7 separate regions of the Homo sapiens genome follow, and all the other regions are linked to region 5. Evidence: promoter capture Hi-C in 16 types of primary human blood cells and fetal thymus (Javierre and others, 2016). All regions are on one chromosome and are shown on one strand. The core of a region is centred on a gene start or on the middle of the fragment in contact, and the rest is flanking DNA. Distances in the headings are between cores, read along the strand shown.

Evidence for each region. The method cuts DNA at HindIII sites, captures the fragments that hold promoters and counts their contacts. A CHiCAGO score of 5 or more calls a contact.
Region 1: a contact is called between a fragment that was not itself captured here and the fragment with the promoter of IGFBPL1 in region 5, in 2 of 17 cell types (M0 macrophages and M1 macrophages). The highest score is 5.9, in M0 macrophages.
Region 2: a fragment that was not itself captured here is called in contact with the fragment with the promoter of IGFBPL1 in region 5 in 1 of 17 cell types (naive CD8 T cells); the score reaches 5.1 in naive CD8 T cells.
Region 3: a fragment that was not itself captured here is called in contact with the fragment with the promoter of IGFBPL1 in region 5 in 3 of 17 cell types (M0 macrophages, endothelial precursors and M2 macrophages); the score reaches 7.7 in M0 macrophages.
Region 4: a fragment that was not itself captured here is called in contact with the fragment with the promoter of IGFBPL1 in region 5 in 4 of 17 cell types (endothelial precursors, M0 macrophages, M1 macrophages and 1 more); the score reaches 10.9 in endothelial precursors.
Region 6: a contact is called between a fragment that was not itself captured here and the fragment with the promoter of IGFBPL1 in region 5, in 3 of 17 cell types (endothelial precursors, M0 macrophages and M1 macrophages). The highest score is 7.9, in endothelial precursors.
Region 7: a contact is called between a fragment that was not itself captured here and the fragment with the promoter of IGFBPL1 in region 5, in 5 of 17 cell types (megakaryocytes, total B cells, total CD8 T cells and 2 more). The highest score is 6.2, in megakaryocytes.

The regions. Positions count from the first base shown.
Region 1 is chr9:37,691,015-37,694,690 of GRCh38, forward strand. It overlaps FRMPD1 (FERM and PDZ domain containing 1), which reads left to right. Exons shown (of 16, transcript NM_014907.3): 2 at 1,624-1,728. The coding sequence starts at 1,628. Among named protein-coding and RNA genes, the nearest start is that of FRMPD1, 42 kb to the left of the region's middle. The HindIII fragment of the contact is 2,413 bases long and covers 192-2,604 here.
Region 2 is chr9:37,868,105-37,871,562 of GRCh38, forward strand. No RefSeq gene overlaps it. Among named protein-coding and RNA genes, the nearest start is that of SLC25A51, 34 kb to the right of the region's middle. The HindIII fragment of the contact is 2,188 bases long and covers 583-2,770 here.
Region 3 is chr9:37,741,185-37,744,785 of GRCh38, forward strand. FRMPD1 (FERM and PDZ domain containing 1) reads left to right here. Exons shown (of 16, transcript NM_014907.3): 16 at 3,205-3,601. Among named protein-coding and RNA genes, the nearest start is that of TRMT10B, 11 kb to the right of the region's middle. The HindIII fragment of the contact is 3,466 bases long and covers 1-3,242 here.
Region 4 is chr9:37,723,100-37,726,960 of GRCh38, forward strand. It overlaps FRMPD1 (FERM and PDZ domain containing 1), which reads left to right. Exons shown (of 16, transcript NM_014907.3): 7 at 1,126-1,221. Among named protein-coding and RNA genes, the nearest start is that of TRMT10B, 29 kb to the right of the region's middle. The HindIII fragment of the contact is 1,610 bases long and covers 1,188-2,797 here.
Region 5 is chr9:38,422,123-38,425,854 of GRCh38, forward strand. IGFBPL1 (insulin like growth factor binding protein like 1) reads right to left here and starts at 2,332. Exons shown (of 5, transcript NM_001007563.3): 1 at 1,843-2,332. The coding sequence starts at 2,302. LOC105376041 (a long non-coding RNA gene) reads left to right here and starts at 2,489. Exons shown (of 8, transcript XR_007061487.1): 1 at 2,489-2,628. RefSeq lists an enhancer at 3,377-3,732. The HindIII fragment of the contact is 4,043 bases long and covers 1,115-3,732 here.
Region 6 is chr9:37,707,387-37,711,274 of GRCh38, forward strand. FRMPD1 (FERM and PDZ domain containing 1) reads left to right here. Exons shown (of 16, transcript NM_014907.3): 3 at 30-187; 4 at 1,013-1,115. Among named protein-coding and RNA genes, the nearest start is that of TRMT10B, 44 kb to the right of the region's middle. The HindIII fragment of the contact is 765 bases long and covers 1,031-1,795 here.
Region 7 is chr9:37,900,486-37,903,995 of GRCh38, forward strand. The region is part of intron 1 of SLC25A51 (solute carrier family 25 member 51); the gene reads right to left. It also overlaps the pseudogene PAICSP1. Among named protein-coding and RNA genes, the nearest start is that of SLC25A51, 1.9 kb to the right of the region's middle. RefSeq lists a silencer at 3,083-3,510. The HindIII fragment of the contact is 310 bases long and covers 1,975-2,284 here.

The sequences.
Region 1 (3,676 bases), core at 148-2,647, 730 kb before region 5:
TGTTGCAATGGAAATTAAGTTTTCAACACATGAACTTCAGGAACACATTCAAACCATAGCAGGATATAAAGTACTCGCTGACAGTATTCAGAGAACTGGGCACAGGAAGAGGTCTTGTCATTCAGTTAGAAGAGTTTTACTTACTTCTTCTATTTTAATTCCTGTACCGTCTATTGTGCCTAGTCTCCCCAAGCTTCTCTTGTTCGTTTTCTCCAGAAAATAAGCCTCTTATCTTCAGTAGGATGGGAAAGAGATAGTTGTCTAGGTAGGTATTTCCATATTTTCAACCTTATGCTCATCCTTGCTTTCTCCTGTACTTACTGCCCCTAATTCCTGAGCCACTGGGCAAATCAGCACCCCTAGATTGGATCATGGTACAGAAAAAGCACATTAGTGAAAAACTGGTAAAATTTGAACATAGTCTATAGTTCAGTTAATAATATCGTACCAATGTTAATTTCTTAATTTTTACAAAGGTAAAATAATTATGTAAGATGTTAATATTAGGGAAAGCTGAATGAAGGGATATGGGAACCCTATATTATCTTTGCAAACTTTTTATACATCTAAAAGTGTTCCAAGATAATTTTTTTAAAAGAATAAGACAGTCTGGGTGTGGTGGCTCATGCCTATAATCCCAGCACTTTGGGAGGCCAAGGCGGGCAGATCACTTGAGGTCAGGCGTTCAAGACCAGCCTGGCCAACATGGTGAAACCCCATCTCTACTAAAAATACAAAAATTAGCCAGGTGCAGAGGCATGTGCCTGTAGTCCCAGCTACTCGGGAGGCTGAGGAGGCAGGAGAATAACTTGAACCCGGGAGGTGGAGGTTGCTGTGAGCCAAGATCGTGCCACTGCACTCCAGCCTGGGTGACAGAGCGAGACTCCATCTCAAAAAAGAAAAGAAAAGAAAAGAAAAGAAACTCTGGAAGGACAAATGGAAAACAAGAGCAGTGATTATGTATGGGCATGGGAACTGGGTGGGTAGGAGCAAGGAAGGATATAAGACAGACTTTTCACTGTCTACATATTTTTTATTATGATAAGAACACTTGAGATCTACCCTCTTAAATTTTTAAGCACACAATACAGTAACTATCTTTTTTATAAGCTAGTGTTGAATTATGTAAGTGAAATACTTATTCAAAAATTAAGTATAAAAGATTGAACAAAAGCAGCAGCGCTCAGAGGAATCTGCACAATGTGATGAAGAATGCTTCCATGTCCATGGGGTTCCTGATGCAGGCAAAACTGAACCGCATTGTCCAGGGTTGCACACATAGTTGGGAGAGGGAAGGACGGTGTCACATGGTAAGGTGTATCTCTTCCTATGGGTCACAGTCACAAAGTTTGAGAAACGTTATCTATTTTACTCTCTCATCCTTATGTTTAACTGTTTAAGATACAAACCCAGTCTGTTTGCTGCAAGATTGAGGGTTGCTAAAGTTGTTCACTCTGTGAACATTGAGCACCTGTTTATGTTGATTTTAGACTAAGGGAGAACACTAGTTATTCGATTAGCATGTCTTATAATGGGCAAATAAAGGAAGCATCGTCCTGATTTATCAAAATCCTCTTTAGAGTATTTTGGTTAGCATCTTAAGAACACTCTTCTTCCTTTTAGGTAAATGGAAGAGCTGGAGACCAGTTTATTCCAGACACGGAAAGCACATAGAATAGAACAAATGGTGGCAAGATGGCTTCGGCGCTCCCGGGACAGCTCGGCCCGGTAAGCCTCCTGAGTTTGCAGATTTCTGTCTATAAAGGTCTGGTGTCCCGGGGGAGGAGCTTGTGCTGGTCCTGGCCGCACCTTGGGATTGCTGTCTCCGGCTTGCTTTGTTCTTACACCATATGGTGGGAGCAGTGTAAACAGGTCAGCAATTTTGCTGGAGTGCTTTTCCCTGTACCCTACCCCCAACATGTACCTACACACACACAGAGACACCCCAACTCACACACACTTACAACATTTACAAACACACTGACACACAGACATACACACAGAAATACACTCATACATACTCATACGCACATGCATATACACTCTCTGGAGCACACACTCATACATACACTCTTTTGATCTCTCTCTGACACACACACAGACACACACACACATAGAGACACACACCTCTTGTCTTAGTACTTGACATGAAGGTCAGGTAATCTGCCGTTTATATTCTTTCTGTGTCTTCTGTGTCTTTCTGTGTCTTCGTTTCCAGCAGCTGTTCCTTCCTTGCAGTCCCTATGTCATTCTAAACAAAATAAAATGAAATCAAATACAGATCTGATTTGACTGCTACAGGAGAACTTTCAAATATGTTCTGTTTCGAAGCGTTCATTTTTGCTTGGATTTCCCATCTGGCCCTGCCACAGAGATGAAATATCACGTGTCAGGTGTTTCTGAGACACACATTCTTCCAAAGGAACTGGAAACAGCTGTTCTGCTGCTGAGTAATAAACTTTGCTCAGGGCTCCACTGCCCTGTGGCCAAGTTCTCTGATCCTCACACACCGAGGTCAGATAAAATGGGGCTCCCTTTTACAGATGAAACACCTAAGGCTCATAGAGTGACTTGTTTAGGACCACTCTTACCCAATGCTCAGAAAGCTTGGATGGGTCCCCATTTATTATAGGAGGAAGCTTAAACATTTTTGGTCTGACGTTTCAAGCTGCAATCCTTTCCAGCTATTTGTCTTACTACTCTGCTTCCTTCACAGTATGCTCCAGCTAAAGGGAACACTTATTATTCTACTACAAGCACCCTCTCTTCTCTTTCACCCCTTGGACCTGGGCTCCTGGGCCATATCCCTTCCTCCCATCTCCATGTGGCCAGAACCCCCCGCAGCTTAAGGCTTGGCTGAAGTGCTGGGTCTTCCATGAAGCCTTCCTCTGTCTAGAGTCAGGATGAATTTCTCCATAGGACCCCGTAGTATTTTATTTGTAGCACTGGCATTGTGCTCCCCCTGGTGCATTCAACTTTTCGAGCCCATTCATTTCCTTTCTCCTAGACCTGCCTTCTGTGAGGTCCAGGAAAGTATTGGCTTCATCTCTATGGCCCAGAAGTGATTGTCTTGCATGAGTGTTGTAGGTGGTCAGGTAGTGCCTGATGAATGAATGGAAAAACTGCTAAGCACATTGTTTCCCACAGTGGGGTCTGCAAAACCTAGTCCTGTGTGATGCTGCTCCATTAAAAGAGATTCTGTGGCCATACATGTTTGGGAAATGATGCATCCTATATCCTACTTCTGCCTTCCCCGACTTGGTGATTTATTATACACATTATGCATGTAATACAGATTAAAGGCTCTGAGAAGTCTCGCAGAGAAAGAGACCTGTTTAACTTGATGTTGCCTGGATATTTGACCTTGGAACCCTCTTAACATCTTGCCTTCTCACAGACTGTAAATGAAAGGTGACAACCATCACTGCTATCTAATTTTAGAATATTTTCAATACTATAAAAAGAAACCCTGTGCCCTTTAGCAGTCACTTCCTATTCTCCCCTCTGCCAGCCCCAGGTAACCACTAATTTACTTTCTTTTATTCTTTTTTGAGACAGAGTCTCACTCTGTTGCCCAGGACGGAGTGCAGTGGTGTGATCTCAGCTCACCTGCAGCCTCTGCCTTCTGCCTCGTGTCTCAGCCTCCCGTGTAGCTGGGACTGCAGGCGCGTGCCAC
Region 2 (3,458 bases), core at 427-2,926, 550 kb before region 5:
GGAGGATCGCTTGAGCCCGGGAGTTTGAGACCAGCCTGGGGAACATAATGAGACCCCATTTCTACAAAAAATGAAAACACAATTAGCCAGGCATGGCGGCATACACCTATAGTCCCAGCTACTCGGGAAACTGAGGTGGGAGGATCACCTGAGCCCAAGAAGTTGAGACTGCAGTAAGCTGAGAGCACACCACTGCACTCCAGCCTGGGCAACAGAGTGAGATTGCCTCAAAAAAATAAAAAAAATAAAAAAAAAGTTGAAAGGCCTCATGCTTACTTTAATGCTTTGCTATAGCCATCTTGAAATTCTCAACTTTTTGAACAAGGGCACTGCATTTTTATTTTGTACTGGGCTTGCAAATTATGTAGCTGGTCCTACTTAGATGTAATCATTTTGACATGATGGGTACAAAGTAATAAAAGAGTTACAGTATCTTTCACTTACCTTCTAATAAAGATATTCACATTCATTGAGAATTAGCTATAAAATGTATAATTTAGTAAAATAACTTCTGAAATTAAAACCACCTCCTTCCCACAAATTTTTGGACAGATCAAATGTTCTTCATTTCAGAATTACAAAAGCTTTCTAAAACTATAATTGGCTTTTTACCTTTTTAATTGTTTTGAGTCTTTCAAATGGATGAATGTAGAGTTGTAGATGAGTTTATTTTATCTATATACACACCTACATAAACATATAAGGTTTTAATTTAAAAAAACCTTTATATTATAAATGCATTGAATATGTGATATAAGTCTACCTCATAACATGATTTTTTAAAAATAAATGCTACTTTGAAACATTTGACACACTTTTTGTGTGTGGTTAACCTGTTTAAAAGGTTGATGGCAAACTTGATTTAGTAATTGCTGGAGATTTTTTGTTTAAACTACCTATATGTGCATTTTTAGACCAAAATCAAGCACAAGGCTATGACAATGGCAGTGGCTTGGTAATTCTTGTTAGTGACATTCTGGACTTTTTCAATCATGCACTCTCCATCAGAAAAAATTTAAGATCCAAATTTTGATTATCTATAAATGATGGGTATACTATTGTACTGATCTGTTAAGTACATTATAAAACATACACAGAGGAAAATCGAAAGTTTAAAAGGATACGATTTTTAAAAATTAAAGTTCTAAATTTCTTCCTGTACCTCCAGGGATAAACTGGGTCTCAGCTGGTATATGGACATTTCATCTTAGGAAGGCCACTATCTAAAATGTAGAATTGGCATTTTACACTAAAAACACATTTACTAAGATTGCATTCTTTCACATATGTTCACTAATGTTCTAGCCATTTGCAAGTTTATTTGGTATGAATATGTTTGTAGAGTTTCTAAAATTAGTTCTTTATTCAGTGAAAATTGTATTATCAACAGGAAGCATCATTCATAGATTTTTACCCTTTTTGTCAAGCTGTTTACAGTGACTGAATCTTATATAAGAACTCAGAACATGATATTTTTCAGTGTTCTCTAGAATTTCATTTTCTTGTTGTATTATTTAACAGTGTGATTGATGGTTCATTTTACCAGATTATTTTCATTCACCAGAGTATGATAATCATATTTGGGACACTCTTTTTGGTAAATCATTGGAGATTAAAAAAAGAGTGAATCCCTTTGAATTCAAATTATTTTGTGAAATTAATCATTCAGACAAACTGATTTAACTAACCATAGCACTAATTATCACTATTTCGTTATCTCTATGACTGACATATTTTGGGCTATTTAAAAATATATTTTTAATTGAAAGGGAAATAATTATTTGCCATGCGTTAATAATAAGGAATCAACAATGTATATTTGTTTTCTATTGCAGCTGTAACAAATTACCATAAACTCAGTTATTTAAAACAACAAAAATTTATGTTCCAGTTCTGGAGGTCAGAAATGGATCTCACTGGGCTAAAATCAAGGTGTTGGTGGGGCTGTGTTTCCTCTGGGAGCCTAAGGGGACAATTCATTTCCTTGCCTTTTCCAGCATCTAGAGGCCACCTGCATTCCTTGGTTCATTGCCCCTTCTTCCTTCAAAACCAGCAGAAAAGCATATTCTTTTTTTTTTAAAAAGTACTTAATTTTTTTATTTTTGAAGAGGCAGGGTCTCACTATGTTGCCCAGGCTGGGCACAAACTCTCCTGGGCTCAAGTGATCCTCCTGCCTCAGCCTCCCAAAGTGCTGGGATTACAAGTGTACGCCACCGTGCTTACATTGACTTTCGTGATTACATTGGGCCAACTGCATAATGCAGGATAATCTCTCCATTTTAAGGCCAGCTGATTAGCAAACTTAATTCCATTTACAACCTTAATTAGCCCTTGCCCTGTAACATTACATACAAGTTCTGGGTATTAAGGATGTGGACATCTTTAGGGGCTACTGTTCTGTTTGCTTACTGTGTGCTAGTGTTGGGTACTAGCCTTAGCGCTTCACAGGCACTATTTAATCCTTAAGGCATTCTTATGAAGTGGGTACAGTTATTCCCATTTTACAGAGGAAGAAACTGAGGCTTAGATTCGTTTACCTAAAGTCATATACCTAGTGAGTTTCAGAGTTAGACTTCTACCTGGTTCTGTCTGACTTCATAGCCTAACTTCAGTTGCTATACAGCTTTGATAATTCAGTGAGAAAATGTTTACTGCTTACAAACTATGTAGAACATTGTGAATACAGGTGTCATACTGTAAGAGAAATGTATTGCAGCTTTATTCTGTAATCAGGTAAAATTATTCTGATATCATTGTGAAAAAGTTGAAAAGCTTCCGCTTATGTGTATAGGGCCAGTAACATTTTCAGAGTTGTCTTGTAACACATAAGTGCTTTTATTCCCTAGACCTTTATCTACTAGGGCTTAGCTGTTTTAGTTTATAGCTGTCATATACTACTTTTAAAACAAATAATGCTGGACGCAGTGGCTCATGCCTGTAATCCTAGCACTTTAGGAGGCCAAGGCGGGCAGACTGCTTGGGCCCAGGAGTTTGAGAACAGCCTGGGCAACGTGGTAAAACCCCATCTCTACAAAAAATACAAAAAAAGCTGGGCATGGTGGCACGAGCCTGTAGTTCCAGCTATTGGGGAAGGTGGGGGGAGGGGCAGGCAGTGAGGTGGGCGGGTCACCTGAGCCCAGGAGGTCGAGGCAGCCTTGATCATGCCACCAGCCTGGGTGACAGAGTGAGACGCTGTCTCAAAAATAAATAAATAAATAAAAACTAATAACTATTTAGGATATCAACTTGAAACAGGTATTTAAATCACGACACATGTACATTTATAGAACATTATGTACAGTTGGTTGCTGCATCTCAAAAACTACATTATCAGGCTGAAAAAAAAACCACAATATTATTAAAAGGCAAAGATAAGCAAGCTTACAACTTTTTAAGGTTTATTGCTTCCAGAGCCATATTCTTAGAGTTTTTCTCTTGATCTGTGTGGCTTCAACCAC
Region 3 (3,601 bases), core at 260-2,759, 680 kb before region 5:
CAAAAAAGGAAAGGGCTTGACAGGAGTGCCCGGCAGAGCGAAGTGGCTATGTCATCACTGATCCTGAGGCTGCATTAAAGGAGGCCTTGAAGCAAGAAGAACCAGACAGACAGGCCGTCTGTGGCCCTGCAAGGCCTTCTGGGGTCCAAGGGACCCTGACATCAGAAGGTAGGGGATCTGGTGGCTGTGTTTCTATCAGGTTCCTCATACATTCCTCCACCGAGAGTGTGGAGGGTCTTTCCAAGCAGAACTGAGATCCTGGCAGGACACACACACACACACACACACACACACACACACACACACACTGCATTCTGAAGGAAACATATTGGAAAAGAGCACATGGATGTTGAAGGTGACCTGCCAGGAGCTGGGAGAGCTGCAGCCCTTGTTCCTGTCTCGGCACTTTCCTGCTGCTCTCTGATCCTCTATTCCCAGACCTCCTGTGCTCTCCCACTGTTCTGGAGAGAAAGGCCAGCTCCTCTGGGAGCCCCATCAGGCCCTTTGAGGCCCTCTGTGACATGGCCTCTGCCTGTCTCTCTCCCTCCTCCTGCATTCCTGCCATACAGACCTCCTTGCCACTTTCTACAAGTGCCTGTTTTTTCCCCCTCCTCCAGCCTTTGCACATGCTGCTCTTTCTGACCGAAACACTCCTCCCCAGATCGTGGCTGATGGTGCCCATCCGTCTATCAGATTCCGGTTGGAATTCACTTCCTCAGAGAACATTTCCCAGGCTTCCCAGGCCAGGGCAAGTCTCCCCATCTCTGTCACATGTTCTTGCATTACCTGGGGCTCTCCCTGTCTGGCACCTCGCACAGCCTGTAAATTACATATTTACTTGTATGATTCTGTGTTGATGTTTCTCTCCATCACTAGACCGAGAACTCCTTTGAGCGTTAGAACTGTGTGTTTCTCACTGTGTCCCCAGCACACAGCGTCTAGCAATTGTTGTTAAATGAATGAATGAAGTCTCCACCATCTACACTGAGTTCAATTGACTGTACCTCTAAGGAAAGGAGAAACCATGGCCAGACTCCTTACTGCTCCCCAAAGTACCCAGACAACCACTTTCCATGCCCCAGCCTTGCCCTGCAGGGCCAGCCATTGTGCCGGGGGGCAGGATGGAAGTGTGGCAGAAACCATCAGTCAGGGCCCTTTTATGGGAGTCTAGTCAGGAACATATGGGGTTCATACCAGACACTGTTTTGTTTTTGTTTTTGTTTTTTATAGGGAGCCAGTGTAGTGCTGAGAAAAGAGCCAGAACTAGGATTCCTCAGCCTGGGTTCTGATTTGGCCCCTGACTGACTATTGGAGCCTCTTTGTCTTTGGGACTTAGAAACTCCTTGGTCGGTGGCTGTCAGTAGCCTAGGGCAGTCAAATGTGACTGGGCATCAGAATCACCTGAGGGACCTTGTTTAAAAACTATAGATTTGGCCGGGCGCAGTGGTTCACACTTGTAATCCCAGCACTTTGGGAGGCAGAAGCAGGCAGATCACCTGAGGTTGGGAGTTTGAGACTAGCCTGGCCAACATGGCAAAACCCCATCTTTACTAAAAGTACAAAAATTAGCCAGGCATGGTGGCGTGCACCTGTAATCCCAGCTACCCAGGAGGCTGAGGTAGGAGAATCACTGGAACCTGGGAGGCAGAGGCTGCAGTGAGCCGAGATTGCACCACTGAACTCTAGCCTGGCCAACAGAGCAAGATTCTGTCTCAAAAAACAAAAAACAAAAAAACCTAAACCTTATAGATCCCTAGGCCCTAGCCTCAGAGATTCTGACTCCTCAGAGATTGTGGGGAGCAGCCTAGGACTTGATAAGGTTTCTAATAGCATACAGCCAGGTTAGAAATGACTGGTCTGACTACCCAAGCTCTCTGATTCTCAAGTGCTAGGCTCTGATCCTAATTCCTTCTGGCTGATTCCCAAGGGTTCTTTACAATAGTGCCTCTCCTCCCAGAAAGATCCATCCTGGGATGCACAAAACTCGATGCCTGTGACAGAGTTGTGGCCCCTTTACATTCAGACATGAAATGGCAATAACGAGCAGCTTCCTTTTAGTGAATACCTAATGAGGCAGAGGCCTTGTGCTGGGTGCTTTATAAAAATGCACTAATTCCTTTAACCTGCACGGCAGCACTGAATGGCACCATTGGCACTAAAAGACTTGGGTTAACATCAGCACAAAGAAAAAGTGTTAGGAAGTAAGATTGTTTATAGAATTGCTGGCAAGCCTGAAGACCTGGGTTCAGAAATAGACAGCAACCAGGCTAAGAGTCTAGTCACAGGATTCCCTACCTGTATTATCAAGCTATTGTGGTTGGAAAGAATGGCTCTGCTTTTTTTTTTTTTTTTTTTTTTTTTTTTTTTTTTTTTTTAATGTCTTTGGGTTTGGAATTCTGGAGAATTTGTAGCTGATTGGCTGGCGTGGACAGAGCATCTTCGTGAACAGTTCCAGCAGACTCTAACCATTGGGGAGATGTCATTCCCTAAACAGAAGTTGAGATGCTGTGACCAAAAGATAATTAAATGGATCTTAGGCATCCAAAAATTTAATAATGTCTATCACAGCTGGGTGCAGTGGCTCAATCCTATAATCCAAGCACCTTGGGAGGCTGAGGTGGGAGGATTGCTTGAACTCAGGAGTTCAAGGCTGCTGTGAGCCGTCACACCACTGCACTATAGCCTGGGGGACAGAGTGAGACCCTGTCTCAAAAAAAAAGAAAAAAAAAAGTCGGCCAGGCGCGGTGGCTCATGCCTGTAATCCCAGGCCTAGGTAGGCGGATCATTTGAGGTCAGGAGTTCGAGACCACCCTGACCAATATGGTGAAACCCCATCTCTACTAAAAATACAAAAATTAGCTGGGCATGGTGGCAGATGCCTGTAATCTCAGCTACTCCGGGGGGATGAGGCAGGAGAATTGCTTGAACCTGGGAGGCAGAGGTTGCAGTGAGCCGAGATCACGCCACTGCACTCCAGCCTGGGTGACAGAAAGAGACTCCGTCTCAAAAAAATAAAAAAAAATCTGTCACAATTATTATCCCCATCTTTCAGATGAGGAAGTTGAGGAGATCAGGATTGAACTTGCTCAAGGTTACACAGCCTAGCCAGAATTTAAACCCAGGAAAGCCCAAGGCCTGAGCCCAAGCTCTATTAACCTCTTTTTTTTGTGCTTTTTAATGTATTTTTTCTTTCCTGACTCCCAGGGCCCAGAGATGTTTCTACTGCAGAACCCAGTGCCACAAGCTTGCAGAATAAGGCCAGCACTTCTAGCCCTGAGAACAGCCTGCCTTGTGGGCCAGATGGAAGACAGCCAAGCAGGAGGGGAGGGGTGAAGAAATATGCCAAGACCCTGAGGAAAAGAAGGTCTTTCCTACAGACCGACTACACCTCTCAGGTCTCATTTCCCCTGGTGCCATCAGCCTCCCTGGAGAGTGTAGACGACGTGTGCTACTATGACAGGGAGCCCTACCTGGCCCTTGGTGCACCCTCCCCAACTGTGTCCTCTCTGCAGGACATGCAGGGTGAGCCTGGCCTTCTGGAGACCAAGGCCTTGGGGCTGCTGGCTCCTCTGAGGGAGACCAAGAGCACAAACCCAGCCTC
Region 4 (3,861 bases), core at 743-3,242, 700 kb before region 5:
TGCCCTTTGGTGATATTTCATTACAGGGAATGCAGCAATAAAATGAGGGTAGGAGAGGCTTCCCTACCCTCTCCATCCCACCCCAATCCTACAAGGTAGAGTCTAAGAATCTCTGAAAGGCCCATGTTGAACAGTGTGCATGCTGGTCATCTGGCTTGCCAAATTGCCTCCCATAAGGGTACAGCCAGCAGTAAAACGTGAGCTGATGGTCATGAGACATTGCACAGGCTCGCGCAGTGCTATCAGTACGCTCGTAGAAGGGCTCACTCTTCTCCACCGTTTGTCGTATCTAACAGTCCTCATGGGTATCCCTTGACAAAGCATGCCTGTGCATTGAAGAAATTCCCAAGTGCCAAGAAAGAACCCCTGACATGGTGAGGAGGTTAGGGAGGATCCTACTCTCCAAACCAGGCAGGTCCAGACAGCCAAGGATTTGTCATACCCAGGGGCAGGAAAGCTGTGACTGGGATACAACAGGCCAGGCATGGTGGCTCACGCCTATAATCCTAGTATTTTGGGAGGCCAAGTCAGGCGGATCACTTGAGGCCAGGGGTTCGAGACCAGCTGGCCAACATGGTGAAACCCTGTCTCTACTAAAAATACAAAAATTAGGCTGGGCACAGTGGCTTAGGCCTGTAATCCCAGCACTTTGGGAGGCTGAGGCGGGTGGATCACCTGAGGTCAGGAGTTCAAGACCAGCCTGGCCAACATGGTGAAACCCCATCTCTACTAAAAAAAAAATACAAAAATTAGCTGGGCATGGTGGTGTGTGCCTGTAGTCTCAGCTACTCGGGAGGCTGAGACAGGAGAATTTGCTTGAACCCAGGAGGTGGAAGTTGCAGTGAGCCAAGATTGCACCACTGCACTCCAGCCTGGGTGACAGAGTGAGACTCTGTCAAAAAAAATAAAAAAAATAAAAAAAAATAAAAGCCAGTCGTGGTGGCAGGTGCCTGTAATCCCAGCTATTTGGCAGGCTGAGGTGGGAGAGTCGCTTGAACCTGGGAGTCAGAGGTTGAGTGAGCCGAGATCGTACCACTGTTCTCCAGCCTGGGTGACAGAGAGAGACCCTGTCTCCAGAAGGAATAAAAAAAGACAGGGATACAACAATACTCTTGTGTTTTCCAGGGTAATTCTCTGCTGTGTATGCCCAACGTGCTCAAGCTATACTTGGAGAATGGACAGACCAAAGCTTTCAAGTTTGAGGCAAACACAACCGTGAAGGTATTAAGAATAAACTTGAACTTCTTTTCCCAAGAAGAATGTTCTGGCTGCTAGGACCCCCCAGGCATCTTGCCCTGCATCTGCCTTGGTGGTCTCACAAACACCGTGGTCTGAGCCCCTGTAATAATAAGCCAGGTGCCATGTTATCTCATTTCGTTGCACGACCACCCAGAAAGATGGTCTTTTTACCACCATCGTAACTGGGTGGGGGTTAAGGGGTGGGAATCGGGACTTAGAGAGATGAAGTGACTTGCCCAAAGGTCAGATTAGAACTCCTAAGCCTTCACCCATAACCACCAGGCTTCCCTGCCATTTGTCTGTGACTCTACCTGCTACGCCAAACACTACGAAAACCCAGGTGAGATGTCAGGAAAGGCCCAGGCGCTGCCTATTCTGTTCTTGGTTAAAGTCAATTGAACTTATACTTCACAAGTTTCCCCATATGAGATGATCTGAGAGGGGTTACTGAGCTTAGTCAGGGGTGGTCTCGATCTTCAGGAGCTTGCAGTCTAGTTGAGGGACGGTGGACGTTCAGGGAATGCTTGATTGTCCAAGGCAGGATGAAATAAGGGCCAAGTGCAAGGGGAAGAGTACCATCTCTTCCAGCCTGTCCAGACTTCAGACAAGGCATGGGAAAGAAGCTGGACCTGCGCTGAGCTTTGGAGGATAACTAAGATTTCAACAAGGGCCAGTAGGGACAGGGCAGTTGAGGGTAGGGTACATATCAATCAGAGAGTCACGTGAACTAATGCAGAGAGCCAGAAAAATGGCAATTGCCCAGGAAATAGCAAACCATCCAGCAGGACTGGGGCACAGGCTGTTTTCTTGTGGAAGGAGTGGCTGTGGAGGGCCTCAAATGCCAGGCAACAATAGAGCTTGAGTTTTATCCATAGATAATATCGTATGGTGCTAGCAGTTCTTGAACAAGGGAGTAAATAGTGTTAGAGTGAGGCCGCAGTGAAGAAGCAAAGTTGTTCAAACAGTAAAAACCATGTAAGAGGAAACATTGAGCCCAGCTCTTCTGGTACAAGGGGAGAGCAGGTTCAGGAGGGCCAATGCAGCTATAGGGGACAAACAGTAGCCAAGACACACATGCACACACACATCTGCACAGTACATTCACACACATGCATATGCATGCACACATATGTACAATGTACATACACCTGTACGCACACATCCAGTGCTTCTCTCTGGCACCTTCATTTGGCAATTCCTACAGCTGCTCCAAATGCTCTATTCTATTTCTTCCTAAATGTGAGTTAGAAGAAGCTGGAGAAGGGCTTTCTGAACCTGGGGAACTCCAAGCCCAGAGGAGGAAGCAATGGAGGAATAGACTTTAAGTGTTTACTACATGCCAGGCACGCTTCCTGGGCACTTTCTTGTATACGATCTCATTTAATGCCCTAGCAACCTTGTGAAGTAACTAGTGTTATCCCCACTTTGCAGAAGAGAAAACAGGCCCAAGAGGCCCAAAAGCTGTCAAGATCAGCTAGCTCATAACTGGCTTTGAACTTGGTCTGTTTTTGAATCCTGTGCTGGAATCTTGTCACTCTGCCATTCTGCAGAAAAGGGAAGCTTTGCAAATGGATTAGACAAGAGTTCTACTTTCATCATCTTTGCTCAAAGTGGATTGGAATAGAAGGGTTGATTTTTTTTAAAGCAAGTCCCCCTTTGGTGGCCAAAAGGACTTTGAGGTAGTTTACAATAAAGGCCCACATTACAGGGGAATTAAACTTAAGATGACAGAGAGAGTTGGGGAAATGAACAAGGACTTAGCCAGTATAATACTGGTTAATCTTATTTATCTGTAATAGCCAAATTTTTTAAAGCAAAGTCTTTAGCTGTTTACGACACAGAGAAAGGTGGACATAAATAAATCTTATGAGTGAAAAAAGGAAAAATTACTGTCCACTCATCAGTGACTTCTCTTCCCCTTTCCCTCACTAAGGGAAGAAAAGTTCTTGTATTAGAAAACCCTCTTTCTCTAAACCAAGAAAAAGAATATGTCATTTGACCCAGTAAACATTTATTGACACTTTTTGTGTGCCAGGCATTTCTATATCACCAACAACTTGGCAATAAATTACCCAGGGGCCGGGTGCAGTGGCTCATGCCTGTAATCCCAGCAGTTTAGGAGGCCGAAGTGGGTGGATCAACTGAGGTCAGGAGTTTGAGACCAGCCTGGCCAACATGGTAAAACCCTGTCTCTACTAATAATACAAAAATTAGCCAGGCATGGTGGTGCAAGCCTGTAGTCCCAGCTACTTGGGAGGCTGAGGCAGGAGAATTGCTTGAACCTGGGAGGCAGAGGTTGCAGTGAGCCGAGACCATGCCACTGCACTCCAGCCTGGGCGATGAGAGCGAAACTCCATCTCAAAAAAATAAATATAAATAAATAAATAAATAAATTACCCAGGGTTATACTCTTAGGAAGCCTGAAGTCTTGGGGTGGGGCTAGGGTGAGGAGATGAGATCTGGGGACAACTCACAATGAAACGAGGTACCGGTGTGCTTAAGACCATGAAAGCGGGACAGAAGCCGTGTGGTACAGGCTCAGGGGAGAGCAAGCTTCCAGCTGGGTGCCAAATAAAGGCCTCTGGGGGAGTGGAGTGGTAGCATGTATGGTGGACTTAGAAA
Region 5 (3,732 bases), core at 1,082-3,581:
CCATCTGCCTGACTTAATACTATTAAGTCCTGTGCCAAAAGAGCACTGGACAGGGTGTTGGGACCAGGGAGCTGGTCATCCTTTACTGGTCACCCTGGACAAGGGCTCTGACCTTGCTGTGTCTCAGTCTCTTTCTCTGTATAACAGCAGATTTGGTCTGAATGTCTTTAAGGTGCCTTTCTCTTAGGAAGAGAATGCCACTCTGGGGAGAAATTATCTGAGATCATCAGCAGCATTTATAGTCTGAGGACCTGGTCAGCATTTCTTCTGTCTCCTGCATGTGGAGTTAAAAGTGTTACCTGTCTGGAGACAAAGAGAATTGCCTGTGAATTAACGGCTGAGGAAAGCAGTTATAAAAACGAGTGATAGGAACTAGCAAAAGGAAAGAGACAGGACTGTTTAAGTGCCACAGGGCGGAAACCAACTGTTCCGAGTGAAAGGGACCTCAACAATGACTCCACTGGGGCTGATATGGCCAGAGAGGGGAAGGGACCCGTCCAGGGCCACTCAGGGAGCCAGCGGCAGCACAGATGCACCCCCAGCCAGCTCTGTCCTCCATGGGGAGCTTCAGCTAGGAACAGCCAATGGTGACTTTCCTGTGCTCAACTGGCCACACACTGGTTTTACATTTCCCAGGACTGGAGGCTTCCTGCCCCATCTCCAACAACCCATTGCGTCTCCTGGACTTGGGTACATCTACCTGAACTACTTGAGAGGAAAGACTACTAGATACTTCTTAAGGCTTGGAAAGGTCTCACCCCACCCCAGGCTTCTTTCTTGAAGCTAAGTCATTACACTGACTTAGGCACTAAAGTCTGGACTTGGTCTCTGGGCTCAGGCCAGAATTATTTCCCAGAAGCCTGAACTCCAGGCCGAAACCCAGGCTCCTTGGGACTCACTGGCCACCTTCTCACTCACCCTAAACTCAGCACTGCCCACTCCAGGCAAAGTACACAGCGGCACTTCAAAACCTAGTGGGTGGAATACACTCATGCTTAGGAAGCCGGTAAAGCAGTGCTAACGTTTTGGTTTCTTTTTGTTTGGTTTTCAAAAGGTACATAAAGAGGGTGGGCAACTATAGCACTCAGAGATTATTTTACTGTGATGTTAATGAAGCTTAAGTTTCTAAGTCCCTAGCATTTCATAATAAGTTTCTAAGTCCCTAGCAGTTCTATTCCTTTACTTAAGGCAGGACTCTCCAAATTATATATGTTTTAGAAGCACGAAACCTGAGTCTGCCCCTAATAGCACCACAATCTTTTCAGACCTTACGTCTCCAAAGGTCTTACTTCTCCTGGATGGAGCTCCCTCAGCATCCCAGCTCAGCCCCTTCCCACACCGGGGGCCCTGGTGCTCTGGTGCTGTGGCCTGGTGACTACTGATTCCCCAGTCTGGAACTCATCCTCCTCCTGCATCCTCAACTTCCCTTCCTCCCCTATCCTCTACTTCCCTTCCTCCCCCAACCTCAACTTCCCTTCCTCCCCATTCAAACAATCCACCTAGCGCTGGATACCTGGGAACTCGGATCCCCCTCCTTAACTCCCAGTCTCCTGCTGGGCAAACATACCATGCCTACAAATAAGTGACTGCATCAGCAGGTACTTAAGTACCAAAAGGGGTAGCAGGCTCACCAAAAATTCGACTAGCACAGTGAGTGGCGTCTCCAAGGATTCTCGCCCCAGTCTCTCTGAGCACGAGGAGAGATATGAAATACTGCTCCCTAAGGGGAAACTGAGTGCCAGGCAGCGCCGTCCACCACTGGGCAGGGGGATCCTTCGCTCCACACCCCAGAGGGTTGGAATCCCTCCTTCTCTACCCACCCAATCCCCGACCCTGACTCACCGAACTCGCAAGGGCCGTCGCGCGCCTTGTGCAGGTGACCGGGGTGCGCGCGGGGCGTGTGCCGAGCGCGCAGGCGCAGCGCGCAGACGCTGGGGTACGAGCGACCGTCGGAGCCGCAGACGGTGCCGCGCTGCGCGCACACGCAGAGCCCGGTGCCCTCGGGCGCTGCCCCAGCGGCCTGGCTCGCGCATACCAGGCCGGGGCCACAGCGCCCGCCGGCGCGGCCCCCGCAGCTCGCGCCCTCGGCTCCCAGGCAGCGGGCGCAGCAGCCGCACTCGTCGAGCGCCGAGATCCCGGGCGCCGGGCAGGGCGCAGGCGCCGGGCAGCCCTCTGGCCGGCACGGACCACACTTGGGGCGCCGGCCGCCCACGTCGCGGATCCCAAGGCTCGGGGACAGCGGCGGCAGCAGCGGCAGCAGCAGCAGAAGCAGCAGCGGCAAGAGCAGAGACAAGCGCGGCATGGCTTGCTCCGGGACAGCGGCGGCGCCTCTGCTTCGCGCTCCGCTCCGCGCCCGCCGAGCAGTCACCGCTCCCGCCCCGCGGCCGCTGATTGGCCGGGCCTGCACCGCGGGGCGCCCGCAGACCGCTGCTCCAGCCCGGGACCCGCGCGGTGCCCGCGGCCCGGGTCTCCGAGCTGGAGGGTCGCCCCGAGAGCAGCTCTCCGACCTCCGATTGGACTCTTGAGGGAACCGAGACCCAGTCGGGGCGACAACTTGCCCGAGGTCGCTATGGCAGAGTCAGGATTGGATAACCGTACGGTCTCCGGATCCAAGGCTGGCTCCAGATAGTATGCCCGTAAATCCTCCCAGAAGGATGCGCTATTTTATTTAATTTTATTTTGCATTCAGTAGTTTTCAAAGTTTTATTTTATAAAGAGAATATATGGTTTAAAATGTAGATTTTACATATACATCTAAGGATGAAAAGAGGGTTACCCTACCACCTTGTATCCCCATCCTCCAACTCGGCTTCCAGAGGCCACTCTTGCTATCGGGTTTTTGTATATCTTTTCAGAAATTTTCTCTATGCCTATAAAAGTACATGTGCCTAAAAAAGCCCCTTCCTTTAAAACACACACACTCTGTTTCTCTCTCACACACACAGAGTAGCGTGCCATACACATTAGTCTGCACTTGGTTTTTGCACTTACAGTGTTTCACAGTTTCCCCACCTCTTGTCATCTGTGAAACTGGGTTTCTTATACAATCAATGGGAGCATAGTTCATTGGCTCTGTGAGTGTGTTTCTTAATGCTGCATAAAGTCATGGTACATCTCCGTCCACAGTGACTTTGTTGTGATGAGATATGGTGATATATTTTGGAGTTCATACAGAGTGGCCTTTCCACAGGGTTTAGTTGCAGTTATTTAACCACTTATTTTCCATCCTTTGGTTAATACGAATAATGCTTTGATGAAGTCTTGGTGCACAAGGGTCAGTGTACCTGTGGCTTACTGGGGAATGCATGTTGGAAAGATGCAGTTTCTTGTAGTCAGTTATTCATGCCGCCGTTGCGCCTTCTCTGGGCCAGGCTCTGTGCACACCATCCTGCCTGAGTTCTGGCAGGGCACCCAGACGAGAAACCTAAGAGAGTCTTGGCTGCTGGGATTTGATGTGTTGCTGGGTAAATGCACTGGATGGAGGGAGGGACTCGCTGAGCAGGTTTTATAGGAGACTTTTCCTGCCTTTACTGGCCACCCCTCATGTGTCTTGTGCTCTATTGTTTTTTCTTTGCTGAACTCCTGGAGATGGAGAAAGCCTCTTGCAGCCTGGGAAGACCAGCTACACCGTTCTTGGGTGGGGTTCATTTTGCTTTTCAAGCCCAGTTCCTTCCCAGTTTGCAGTCTTCTTATCCCCAGAAAGGAGCCTCTTCTGAGGCCACTTTATGTGGT
Region 6 (3,888 bases), core at 163-2,662, 720 kb before region 5:
CTCTTTTTTACATACTCCTTCTCTTCCAGGGCTAAAGTTGCTGCAGCTGATGGGCCCGCCAGGAACCCAACTCAGACCCTCATCCCTGTGCGACACACAGTAAAGATAGACAAAGACACCCTCCTCCAGGACTATGGATTTCACATTTCTGAGAGCCTTCCCCTTACAGTGGTGGCTGTCACAGCAGGTAGGGGATGACTGGGAAATGAGAAAGGAGTTTGGTTTCTTAAGGGGAAATAGCCCCAAATCTCCCCGATCTCTCTATCCTATAACAAAATGCAGAAAATCCTACCTGGGAAGTTAGAAAAGGCACACCTAATTCTGTCTTGGGCTTTGCACCTTACTTTGATGCTGGGAGGGAGGAAGCCTCAAGTGCACTTGCCGCTCCAAACCCCAGGCTCCCACTGGCCTTGGCTAGGGCGTTGCCCACCCTTGGCTCCCTGGCTGGTCTCAGGGGCAGTGAAAGTATTTGGCTAAGCTAGCCTTCCTCTTTGAACCCCACACGCTCCTAGCTGGGGATACTTTCTGGTCAGACAGTAATAGAAACCATTGATTTGTTTTCATTTGAACCTTGTGAAATACAGGCTGTACCAGGGTGGAGAGGAGCAGGTGGGGAAAGTCCAGTGCTTGTTTTCATAATTGAGGTGTGTTAATCTGGGATTCGTTAAAATGTATTGATTTCTATTTACTACACATACACACCAGAGTTTTTTAGAGATGAATGGAGTAGATTTACTGGCCAACTCTATTGATTTAGAAGGTTTCTGCTAGTTTTCTTTCTCAGGACAGTCTTCTAACATCCCTGGAAGTTGGTGATAGATGATAGGTACATTATCCATGGTTTATAAACAGGAAAATTAAGATCCACATGAGCCCAAGCCTGACTGAAGGCGGGGGAGTGAGCCAGTGCCCCTGGGAACTGGATCAGGGTGCCATTTAACTGTGCCGCTATTACACATAGAGTCTGGGTCCTCCCGGCATGAGCACCAATTACTTATTTTCTGTCCAACAGGAGGCTCTGCTCACGGCAAGCTTTTCCCTGGTGATCAGATCCTCCAAATGAACAATGAGCCTGCTGAAGACCTTTCCTGGGAACGAGCAGTCGATATTCTCAGGTACTAAATGGTCTTCCATCATCTACAGAATTGCACAGATTATCAAAGAACAAAGATGGGCAACAGGAATGGCATAACTGATCCCCTGATTTTAATAAGGCTAAGTCTCCTTTAAAGCAGCAAAAACAGCCTCGTTTTAGAGTTCCATCTATTAAAACGGCTTCTTGTTAGTGGCTGTTACAGTCCACTCTCTCTCACTTGCCTACAAAAGAGCTTGGGAGGCACAGAGTGCTGTATTTGTCAAAGCCCTGCTATGCCCAAGACACCGTGCTAAGCATGCAGGGAATGTAATGATCATAAATAACCCACAGGCCCTACCCTCTAAGGATTTATAGGCACGTTGTAACATATGCCAAAGATTGAACTAAATTGATGCCAAATCTGTTCTTCTTTATCCCTCTTGATATATCTTCTTAAATATAATTGCAGGTGCATCTTGGTTGGCATATATGTAGTTTCATTGATGTAGCACCTCCAAACCTTCTGTCTGGTGTCATTGTGACTTATGAAAATGCCTCGCTTTTTACCTAGACAATGATTTCCTGAGACCAGGGCTCAGTGGGTGCTCAGTTAAATGAGTGAATATGGTTAGCGCTGGGAATTGGCAACCCAGACTTTAAGACGGAGGAGTGCCATTGATAGGAGTGAAGAGGACAAGCAGACATTTTAAGGGCACATGAAGCTTTGGCTTTTAAATTTTTCACTCAACATTGTTCTAATGACTAGTATAAAGACAGACGAGAATCAGAGGTAGATGAAAGCTAACTTGAAGAGATATATATATATATATAAAATTCAGTTTGTGATTTTTCATGAATGGCTGATCTGGCTTTGGGGTGGTATTAATTGTTTTTTTTTCCCTTTTTTTTTGAGATGGGGACTTGCTGTGTTGCCTAGGCTGGTCTCAAACTCTTGGGCTCAAGTGGTCTTCCCATCCCAGCTACTCGGGTGGCTGAGGCAGGAGAATCGCTTGAACCCGGGAGGCAGAGGTTGCAATGGGCCACGATTGTACCACTGCACTCCAGCCTGGGTGACAGAACAAGACTCCATCTCAAAAAAAGAGAGAAAGAAAAAGAAAAGAAAAGCCAAGGAAATACACTGTAAATGCTGGAGAGTCCTCCAACTTGGGCAGAAGTTGTAGGCTGACAAAACAGAGAAGGGCCCAGAAATATTTCAGTTGTGTCTTTAATGCTGGGTAAAATTTGGTCCAAAAGATGGAGGTGAAGGGTGATTCAGGCAAAGAGGTAAACAGAAGCAACTGGGTGGGAAGTAGGGGCTGCTGAGCAGTTCAGTTTGCCTGCAGAAAAGTTCTAGGAAGTGAAGTCCAGATGATAGAAGGTCTTGAATGCCAGCACAGCATGTTTCAGTGTGATTCTCCCCCTGGAAGGGCGAGCAGTTGAAGGCTTCTGAGCAGGGATGCATGACTTGAGGTGTGCTGTGCATCTGTACCCTCTGCTGTCTTTTGCATGTGAGAATCCCAGGACGCCTTACTTTTTTTAAGCTTAGTTCCCAGTGTCTAAAACCAGCATGTATTATTCAGTGTCACGTGTAAAAGGTAAAACACAAAGCAAAACAAAAAGATACAACAACAATGCCAAGAAAACATCTCAAATTCCTCCAAATAGCTATGAGGCCAGTATGTCCTTTTAGAGCACTTGCATTTGGGTTTATTGTGATTTATCTCAGAAAAGGCCTGTTCTCATTTAAAATGGAAAAGAGGAAGTCCCTAGACACTTAGACATCTTGGGTTGAGTTTATCCTTTTGAGGAAATAACACACCAGCAGCAATTGGCCTAAATGTTCATATTGCAAGAAGTCAAATGAAATTATTTTGCCAACTGCTTCTCCATGGTAGCAGTGGCAAAGAGAAAGGAAAATATGATCGATTTTCTCTGTTCTGGCCGCTAATATAAAGTAGAGGTCAAGCAGTTATCTGCTTGATTTGATCACTTTTGAAATCTAAGAGATAATGCAAGACAAAGATGTCTACTATCTTGATTATATGATTGGGCTCATTACACCGACTTTGTGTGCCCAAACACCATAAACTCTTTGGCTTTTATCTGATAAACGTTATCCACAGACATTCATTCTGTTTAGTGAAATGTTTAGCCTGAGTTTTATGAAATAGCAACCTGAGTTATCTGTGTTATTGCCATATTTTCTCCTAAAAAATTTTTTTGGGTTGGGCACGGTGGCTCACACCTGTAATCCCAGCACTTTGGGAGGCCGAGGTGGGCAGATCACCAGGTCAGGAGTTTGAGACCAGCCTGACCAACATGGTGAAATCCCATCTCTACTAAAAAATTAGCTGGGTGTGGTGGCGGGTGCCTGTAGTCCCAGCTACTCGGGAGGCTGAGGCAGGAGAATTCTTTGAACCCGGGAGGCGGAGGTTGCAGCAAGCCAAGATTGCGCCATTGCATTCCAGCCTGGGCAACAGGGCAAGACTCTGTCTCACAAAAAAAAAAAAAAAAAAAAATTGGGGGACATAAATCTAGCTGGTTGTCACTGGATGAGTTCTTCATTGTATAGGACTAAATTAAGGCTAAGTGCCTTAATTAATGTTGTGGCTGTAGATATAGACTAGATGGTAGAGGTGAACTTACGAAAATTCCCTCCAGGTGGGAGGAGCTCTCTGGGTCAGCTTAAGTTCCTTTGCAGGTTGCTGCATTTCCCAATATCTTTCTCAGTTTTGCTGAGCCAAAAAAGCTAAGGCAAAGGAGGCTGCTTTATACTCATTCTGCCAGTCTTTTTGACCCTAACACACATGCTC
Region 7 (3,510 bases), core at 880-3,379, 520 kb before region 5:
CCCAGACTGGAGTACGGTGGTACGATCATGGCTCACTGCAGCCTGGACCCCTGGGGCCTCAGTCTCCTGAGTAGCTAGGACCACAGGCGCATGCCACCATGCTTGGCTAACTTTTAAAAAACATTTTTTTAGCAGAGAGGGGGCCTTGCTATGTTGCCCAGGCTGGTCTTGAACTCCTGCCTTGGCCTCCCAAAGTGCTGGGATTTACAAGCCACTGCACCCATCCAACACTTGCTGTTTTAAAAAATTACTTCTAACCTGTGTACTTATGTTCCCTTTTTTCTTGAGCAGGGTTATCAGTTTATCTAATTTATAACCTTACCACTCCTAGCAAAGCAGCAGCTTGTGAATTACCAATCTTACTATTTCTCAGTTTTGTTTTGTTTTTTTGAGACAGAGTTTTGCTCTGTCACCTGGGCTGAATGCAGTGGCTACCTCGCAGTTCACTGCACTTACTGCAGCCTTGACCTCCTGGGCTCAAGCAATCCTTCCACCTCAGCCATCTGAGTACCTGGGACCACAGGCCCGCACCACCAAGCCCAGCTAATTTTTGTATGTTTTGTAGAGACAGGGTTTCTCTACGTTGCCCAGGCTGGTCTCAAACTCCTTGGGCTCACATCATCTGCCAGCCTTGGCCTCCCAAAGGGGACTACAGGCATCAGCCACCATGCTCACCTAGTTTAAAAAAAAAATTTTTTTTTTGAGACAGAGTCTCACTCTGTTGCCCAGGCTGGAGTGCAGTGGCGCAATCTTGGCTCACCGCAACCTCCACCTCCTGGGTTCAAGCGATTCTCCTGCCTCAGCCTCCCAAGTAGCTGGGATTACAGGCATGCCACAATACCCGGCTAATTTCTGTATTTTTAGTGGAGACGGGGTTTCACTATGTTAGCCAGGCTGGTCTCAAACTCCTGAGCTCAAGTGATCCAGCCTGCCTTGGCCTCCCAAAGTGCTGGGATTACAGGTGTGAGCCACTGTGCCTGGCTTATTTTCTTGTAATTCTTAAGTGAGACAACTATTTTTATCCTTTATTTCATAACTTGACTGTTTAAGGCTGTGTACTTTTCTTTGAGCAAAACTCTTATTACTATTTAAGAGAGTTGGCATTTTGTCTTAACTATGCTTGCTAGTAAGTGTCCCAAAATCTTCAGTGAGTCTAGTGTTGTTATTCACAGTAAAAATAAGATTAAAGGGAAAAAAAAGGTTCCAGAATATCATCTGTTCCCTCTCTCCTCTCCCTTTCTTAATGTACAGAGTTTTGGGGCTTAATATGATTAACTTCAAGATATGTTCTAGACACTGAAGTCTGTTAGGGTATTGAGTTTGATAATTATTAGTTCTACTACATCCTTACTTTTTACTGATTCAGCTGATAGGTATGAGTTAAAAACTCTTATTAGTACACTTACAAGCTAAGATTAATCAATATTTGAAGTCCTAAAACTTAGTCTAGAAATGCTTGATACCTATGTAATGCTTTGCACTTCTTCAGTTTCAGAATTAAACAATGTTAAATCAACAAGAATATTTAGATTAATGTACATGATTACATGATATTGTGACAATTTATGAATGTCAAAACCATTTTATTTTTACATACGGAGCACACAAAATATTTTAAATTCTAAAGTCACCACCTACAAGCTGTTTACACATGCTCCTTGACAGTACAAGCCAAGTTATTTGTGTACTTGAACAACAATAAAAATTTTGTCCATGTTCACTTTTACTGGAATGTTACTTGTATTACTTTCTGAAATTTTGCAAATAAAGGTTAGTTTATTTATGACTCTGTGTGAGAATGGGGACTGTTATTAAACAAGCAGAAAACTACAGCTAACAGAAGTTAACCATTTATTGACCACCATATCCAACTATTTTAAGAACATTACTGTACATTGAGATTCTCAGATTTAAAAAATAGGCCTAGATGGGGGAAAAAATGTTATGAAACCCTCCTGGACTTTACAGATTTAAAGCTTTTTCTCTAGTTTAATCCTACACACCAGGATGGTGTGAATATGTTCTTAATTTAGCAATAGAAGGATAATGTGCACAGCATTATTTGGTAGTACAGTTTAGACTTTTGCATGTTTACCTATACTGTGAACATGGTTAAATTTCTTTGCTAAACTGATCTTTATATTTTTATTCATTAATGTGGATAATTCTTTGCAATTTATTGCAAAATTTATTTACCATAACTTTACGCTTGTTTGCTACGTAAAACTATCTCATCATAAGGGAGCAGTTAATGAACTTGATTTTCAAGCAACTACAAGTGTCAAGCTTCTGTGACTAAGAAAACAGTGTAAAGTCTAAAACCTTATTATAATTTACAGCCTACATGGATCAGCATGATACAGATATGATCCTAGCACAAAGGTCTCTGCAAAAACTGGGGAGAGGGTGACTCCAATTCTCAAAGGATGTGAATTTCCACTAGTCAGCAGGTCTGAGTCAGCATTCAGAACAAGATCAGCCTGGGTCTAGTCCTAGTTACGACACTAGCTTGCCAATATAAAGACAAAGCAATATCTGATTTTAAAATCCACTGATCTGAGTTTGCTTTCATTTACCAAACGAGAGATCAGATGAGTCAACTCCTAGCTTGTTTTCCCCTGAGATGCGCTAAGGGTGATTCCAGTTCCAAAGCGGTAACCTGTGCTCTAAACCACTATGGGACCTCAAGAGTCCTAGCACCTTTTGATCCTATGGAATCCTTTCAAAGCACGGGCAGAGGCGGCTCAAAATGGCAAGGTCACTATACATTTCAAGGGCTTCTGTTTCAGAGATTACAAGTAGAGAAAAACAGAAGGTGGGAATTAAGATCAGCTAGGTAGAGCTGTGAGATGCAAAACAAAGGTTTTGCAGGAAGTTGAGGTGCTGACATACTCCATCTAGCTAAACTGAACACCAAATAATGGATGGAGACTAACACCACCAACACCATCGTCCCCGAAAATCCTTGTACAAGTGAGCTTCCTACAACGCGATGCAATATGCTGTCGCAGAACAAGCACTGCCAGGCTATGTAGCTGAACTTACCGTTCTCCAGGCGTCCATTTCCCCAACCTGTGAAAGGCGGGGAGGGGGTTGGACAAGATCACTAAGTCCTCTTCCGTTTCTGACACTTCACAGTCAGGGGTCCCGAGGTGAGGCCGAAATCCCAGTCTCCCGGGACGCAGAGGCCCTTGCGCGGTGCCATCCCCGCTGTCCCCCGGGCGCAGGCAGCTCCCGGCTCCTCCCCGCCCCTGCGGTTCCTGTGCACCAGGGAGGTGCCTCCCCAGCCCAGGGCGCGCCCGAATGAAGGGACAGCGCCTTCGCGGGAAAGGTCGCCCAGCAGCCGGACAAACACCCGCGGCAGGCGGGGGAGCCCGGAGCCGAGGAGGCTCAGAACTGATTCCGCCCGCGCCGCCTGGGTGGGGCCCGCAGGGACCGGGCCAGGGCAGCCGGAGCGCGCAGAAGACAGGGATGGGCCCCCAGGGCGGCAGCCTGCCCCAGCGGGCCCTT